2 separate regions of the Homo sapiens genome follow, and region 1 is linked to region 2. The links are contacts of gene promoters, found by promoter capture Hi-C in blood cells and fetal thymus (Javierre and others, 2016). All regions are on one chromosome and are shown on one strand. The core of a region is centred on a gene start or on the middle of the fragment in contact, and the rest is flanking DNA. Distances in the headings are between cores, read along the strand shown. Region 1 has its middle 15 kb from the start of H2AC6. Region 2 holds the start of BTN1A1 (butyrophilin subfamily 1 member A1).

Evidence for each region. Contacts are between HindIII fragments. The CHiCAGO score rates a contact against its expected background, and 5 or more counts as called.
Region 1: a fragment that was not itself captured here is called in contact with the fragment with the promoter of BTN1A1 in region 2 in 2 of 17 cell types (neutrophils and total CD4 T cells); the score reaches 6.7 in neutrophils.

Annotation. Positions count from the first base shown.
Region 1 is chr6:26,137,911-26,140,755 of GRCh38, forward strand. No RefSeq gene overlaps it. Among named protein-coding and RNA genes, the nearest start is that of H2AC6, 15 kb to the left of the region's middle. The HindIII fragment of the contact is 2,247 bases long and covers 152-2,398 here.
Region 2 is chr6:26,498,847-26,501,714 of GRCh38, forward strand. It overlaps BTN1A1 (butyrophilin subfamily 1 member A1), which reads left to right and starts at 1,457. Exons shown (of 8, transcript NM_001732.3): 1 at 1,457-1,512; 2 at 2,384-2,519; 3 at 2,744-2,868. The coding sequence starts at 2,441. All of the region lies in intron 1 of LOC107986583 (a long non-coding RNA gene), which reads right to left. RefSeq lists an enhancer at 2,746-2,868. The HindIII fragment of the contact is 5,298 bases long and covers 1-2,868 here.

The sequences.
Region 1 (2,845 bases), core at 25-2,524, 360 kb before region 2:
ATTTGAGGAATTGAGAAGGGCTGTGGTACCTGTAAAGAACTAACTCATTATGAAGAAAAGGATCTGTAAGTTTTTCTGTATGTGTAAGGAAGGCCAAGAAGGTGGTTTCCAGATATATTTACTTTTTCTTCTCTCTCTCTTAGGTTGCAAAAGCTTCTCATTTCAGAGAGATGCCAGGATCCTAAGTGCCTGCCAAACTTACCAATTCTAAGGAATAAGTGGATGGATGGCATTACTGATTCCTACATTACTGATTGATTCTGCATCCGCAAATTGTTTTATTAAAAACATTCTACATCATGTGTGGGGAGATAAGGAGGATAAAATGAAGAGAAAGAATATTATTGAGGGGAAGTTCTTCTGAATACAAAATGTGTTTAATTTTTTAAATAAGTATTACATTCACAGGGTTCAAACTATTTGAAGTAAAGAGATTATATATAAAGAATCCATCCCTCAACTTACCCAGGTGGTCACTTTTCTTTTTCTTGTGTATCTGCCCAGTATTCATTCCTGCTGATATCAGTCAATAATGAATGATACGTGTTTTCTTCACTTTTTTCATTCTTGTCAGGTAGCAGACTGTGTAGACTTTTCTGCACTTGCCCTTTTCATAACAATCTATCTTGGAGAACTTTCCCTATGAGAACATACAGAGCTTCCTGTACACAGTTGCATGTACTGCATTATGCAAATGCATTATATTTTATGTAACCTGTCCACTGTTGGTAGGCACTTGAGTTGTTTTAGTCTTTTGCTATCAAACAGTTCTGGGATGATTAACCCTGATTTACTGCAAAATTGAAATTGCTCTGCTATTCTGCTGGAATGGTGGTAAGTGAACTGAAAATTCCAGTCACTCTTGGGCTAGACTCAACGTTCTTAAAAACTATGTGGCCATCACCAAATTAGTTATTTTGAACCTTAATTTCTTCACCTCTAAAATGGAGGTAATACTTACCTTAAGTGGCTATGAGAATGAAGATCATGTGTATGAATTGTTGGTGCTCTAAAGAACAGCACAAATAAAATTATTTTCAAATTTAATTTTAATTGAACTATGTGTAATTTCTTAATTTTGAAATAATTTTATTTGTAATGTGCATAATCTTATTTAATGTATAATGTATACATTGTAATAGAAACAGATTTCCCAAATTCCAGCCTGGCATGAGGTAATAAAAGGTAATGCAAAGGGAGAGGAAAGCATGTGTCATTAATTTTCTGCCTAGGACACCTCCCTGGTTAAATTGCCATTTCCTTTCTTCCTTGCATAATGATTAGGAAACACATCCTCCTGACCTGCCTGCCCTCTTTTGCCTACTTTTTCATCTGCAGTCAAGGTCTGGTTTTAAGACTGACTGTTACTTTTACAAATCTGTGTGTATTGGTGGCTAAGGGCCTGTATGGTCCACTGCTGTATTCCCAGGTCCCAGCATGGTGCCTGACGCTGCCTGGCAAATAGTAGTCACCCGAGAAATGGCTGATGAATTCATGAGGCCTACTCTGTATGGAAATTTCAATTCTGGCCCCGAATTTTCAGGAGCTGGCAAGAGAGCCACCTTAATATCATAGGCTGAGTTGGAAGAAGGGAACACCCAATTTATTCTTAAGAAGTACTTTGCCCAGGTACTGTGGCTTAGGCCAGTAATCCTAGCATTTGGGGAAGCCAAGTTGGGCAGATGGCTTGAACCCAGGATTTCGAGATCAGCCTGGACAACATGGAGAAACCCCATCTCTACAAAATATGTAAAATTTAACTGCTTGGTGGGCCTGCACTTCTGGTCCCAGCTACTCCAGGGCTAGGGTGGGAGGATTGTTTGATCCCTGGAGGTCAAGGCTGCAGTGAGCCATGATCACAGCAATGCGCTCCAGCTCTGGGCAACAGAGCGAGACCCTGTCTCAAAAAAAACAAAAATGCCTATACAATAAATCTATAAAAAGTGGGTTTTGTGTGTCTATACACACACACACACACACACACCTGCATAGACACTCAGGTGTTCTGGAAAGACACAGGAATCTGAAGCCAAAATACTTGTGATTTTTTTTCAGCTCTGCCACTCACCAAATGTCTGATGGGATTAGTTACCTGCCATCTCAGAATTTCTCTTCTGTAAAATAAGGTAATAGTACCTCCCAGAGTTATGAAAAACTATCAAATGAGATGGCAGATGAGAAAACACTATATTCCTTGTAAAACCTGACAAATATGTGCAAGATTATATAAAGACTGTCTTCTGTCCATTTTCAAATGTGGAAAAGTGAAAGCAGGACAGGATGTTGGGATTTCTGTCAGAGATTTGCTGGCTTCCACCTGCAGAAATTGAAGTAATTGGGGTTCTTACACCTAAGTACTAACTGAGTCTGGTTGCAGTTTGCCCCCATGGCTACATGAAGCTTTTAGAAGAGTCAGCATGGTAGACATGGAATGTTGAATGGTGGTGGAGTGTACCCACACACCTCCCACCAAGTCAGCTCCAGGTTCAGAAGCAGCAGCCCCAGTGGAAGGCATGCGTGTTTGTAACTCAGCTGAGCCACCTTTCAAGAAGCAGAGGCTTTCCAAACAGGGATGCCCCCTGCTTTTGGTTCAACTTGACTTCCTACCTTCAGTGAGGACATGGAGAATTCATCTAGACTGGGTACCTGAGCAAACTTGGCAGAGCAAAGAGAAATGTGGAAGGCCCTAGGTAGACAGGCCCTGTGGAAGGAAAGAATGAAAGAGGACAGAAAGAAACTCCCATTTTCTTTAGCACAGTCCCTTCAGATTAAGGATGAAGAGGCTGGGGTTCTGAATTGGTTGGCCTTAGGTAATGGTCACAAAAACAAGTCAATGGCTTTTCCA
Region 2 (2,868 bases), core at 207-2,706:
GAAATAATAACTTCTCAGTGCTAGCAGGGATTAGGTGAGGGCACCTCCATTGAGGGTGTGATGGATTCAACATTTCAGGAAGGGACTGTAGAAATATGCTGATACTAGGTCGGGCATGGTGGCTCACACCTGTAATCCCAGCACTTTGGGAGACCAAGGCAAGCAGATCATTGAAGCTCAGGAGTTCGAGACCAGCCTGGCCAACATGGTGAAACCCTGTCTCCACTAAAATACAAAAATTAGTTGGGCATGGTGGCACGTGCCTGTAATCTCAGCTACTCAGGAGGCTGAGGCAAGAGGAAAATCCTTTGAACCCTGGAGGCGGAGGTTGCAGTGAGCCAAGATTACGCCACTGCACTCCAGCCTAGGCGACAGAGTGAGATTCCGTCTCAAAAAAAAAAAGAAAAGAAAAGAAATATGCTTATACCATTTGATCTGATGACTCTATTTCTGGAAATTTATTAAACAGTTTATCAGGACATTATCCAATTTGCAAATAAAGACTTATATATAAAGTGTATTATTTACAATAGGAAAAAAATCCCAAATGTCCCACAATCATGGCAATTATACAACTATTAACAATATTTTGAGTTACACAAAAAGTCTAATTGATTGCTTTTATGATATACATAAGCATAAAATAAATCTTGGAAGGACTATGCCAAAATGTGAATTGAGGCTATCATTAGTTAGTAGATTAAGTGTGACCTCCATTTTATAAAAATATTTTTCTGTATTTTTAAATTTTTTCATAACAATGAGAGGTAGGTTTAGTATAAATTAAGGAATTGTAGGCCTCATGATGAGTTGCTTCAAAAGAAATAATTGTCAGGGAGGCAACTTTTGGGCCCTGTAAACAGAATTCACAGCCTACCCTTAAGACTGGCCTTTAATGGAGTTGTTCCAACAGACACAGCACCTAAGGTGGACGGACGCTCCAATAACGAAGATGGCTATAGACAGAGGCTACTGCTACCTTGGCCTCTGGGCTTTCATTTTTCAACCCGCAGAAATAATAATAGAATAACAATTTATCCTCCGCTGAGTTCCTACTATGTGCTAAGCACTTTACCTGCTTAATCTCACTTAATCCTCCCAACACCTCTTCAAGAAAGGTATGATCAATATTATTACCATTTTAGAGATCAAAGAACTGAGGCTTGGAAAGAGGAAATAACTGGCTGAAGCCATCACATCTCATTTGTGTGTTTCCTTGCCTCTCTTCTCTTTTTCTCTTTTCTGCCTTTCATTTGGTCCAGCTCATCAATGCATATCTTGATTTCTGAGCTGAAGACCACAAATCCAGTTTTCCATCTCTCTGAAAAACTTTTCATCTCCCTTTTTTTTTTCCTCAGAGTGAATATACCAGGCCACCTGGAGGCAGGCTTTCCTGAGAGCACCTCCCGCTTCCTTTTCCTGCTGGCTTTTAACTTTTGCCCCGGGGGCCACAGCCAGCTTTCTCACTTGGTAGCAGTGGCCTCTTGTGCCTTTTTCTCCAAGATCACCCAGGTCAGTATGTGTGGTTACTCTCAGCTCCCTGAGGGAGTGAGCAGCCAGAGGGGCATAGCATACTTCTCTCCCTCCAGCTCCTTTCTCCTTGGTCCTAGGCCCTCTACTCTTCAAGCCCTTTTGCTTGCTTCAGCTCCTGCTTCTTGCTCCATCTCCTCCCATCTTTTCTCTCTTCTCCAATTCATTTCCTTGGACTCCATTTCTGCCTTTATACCCTTATCTTTATTATCATTGCCAAAAGCAAATACCAAATTCTTGTATTTGAAAAAAGACTTTGGCCAGGCACGGTGGCTCACGCCTGTAATCCCAGCACTTTGGGAGGCCAAGGCGGGTGGATCACGAGGTCAGGAGTTCGAGGCCAGCCTGGCCAACGTGGTGAAACTCCGTCTCTACTGAAAATACAAAAAATAGCGGGGCATGGTGGTGCGCGCCTGTAGTCCCAGCTACTCCGGAGGCTGAGGCAGAACAATCGCTTGAACCCAGGAGGCTGAGGTTGCATTGAGCCGAGATCATGCCACTGCACTCCAAGCTGGGCAACAGAGCAAGACTGTCTCAAAAATAAATAAATAAATAAATAAAAAGGAGACTTTTTTTTTAGTGCAGTGATTCCAAGATTTGTTCATCGATATGCAACCAACTAATGAGTGTTATGCCTCACAGTTCCCTTCTCCTAAGTTTTAGAGTTAGAGTAGTGGGTGGGAAGGTGATAACCACAGTGTAAACTAAAAATCCATACTGGGGATGGAGGCTGAGAGGAGGTTTCAGGGGCAAATGACCAGAACACTTGCAGCTGGAAAGAACTGTAGAGAGGACTTTGGAAAGCGGAGGGTTGACAGAGCCGGTAGTTGTCTCCTGTCCATTCATCTCCTAGGCTGAAGCTCCTGAGGGGACTCACATCAGTTATCTTGCTGCTCCAGAAGGGTGGGAGATGGCAGTTTTCCCAAGCTCCGGTCTCCCCAGATGTCTGCTCACCCTCATTCTCCTCCAGCTGCCCAAACTGGATTCAGGTAAGTCTCTCTCTCTCTCTGGGCTGCATAGTTGAAATATATCAATAAATGTAAAATAAACAATCCCACTTGGCTCTCCCTGGAGACCTCCACTGGATCCAGACAAACTCAGCTGTCAAAGGAGTAAGAGAGCGCGGGGCACTGCGCTTTGGCGGGAATCTGGTCGGTGTCTGTCCGTAGTTCCCATCTCCACATCCCGTCTGATCCCGCTCGTTTTTCGGCAGCTCCCTTTGACGTGATTGGACCCCCGGAGCCCATCCTGGCCGTTGTGGGTGAGGACGCCGAGCTGCCCTGTCGCCTGTCTCCGAACGCGAGCGCCGAGCACTTGGAGCTACGCTGGTTCCGAAAG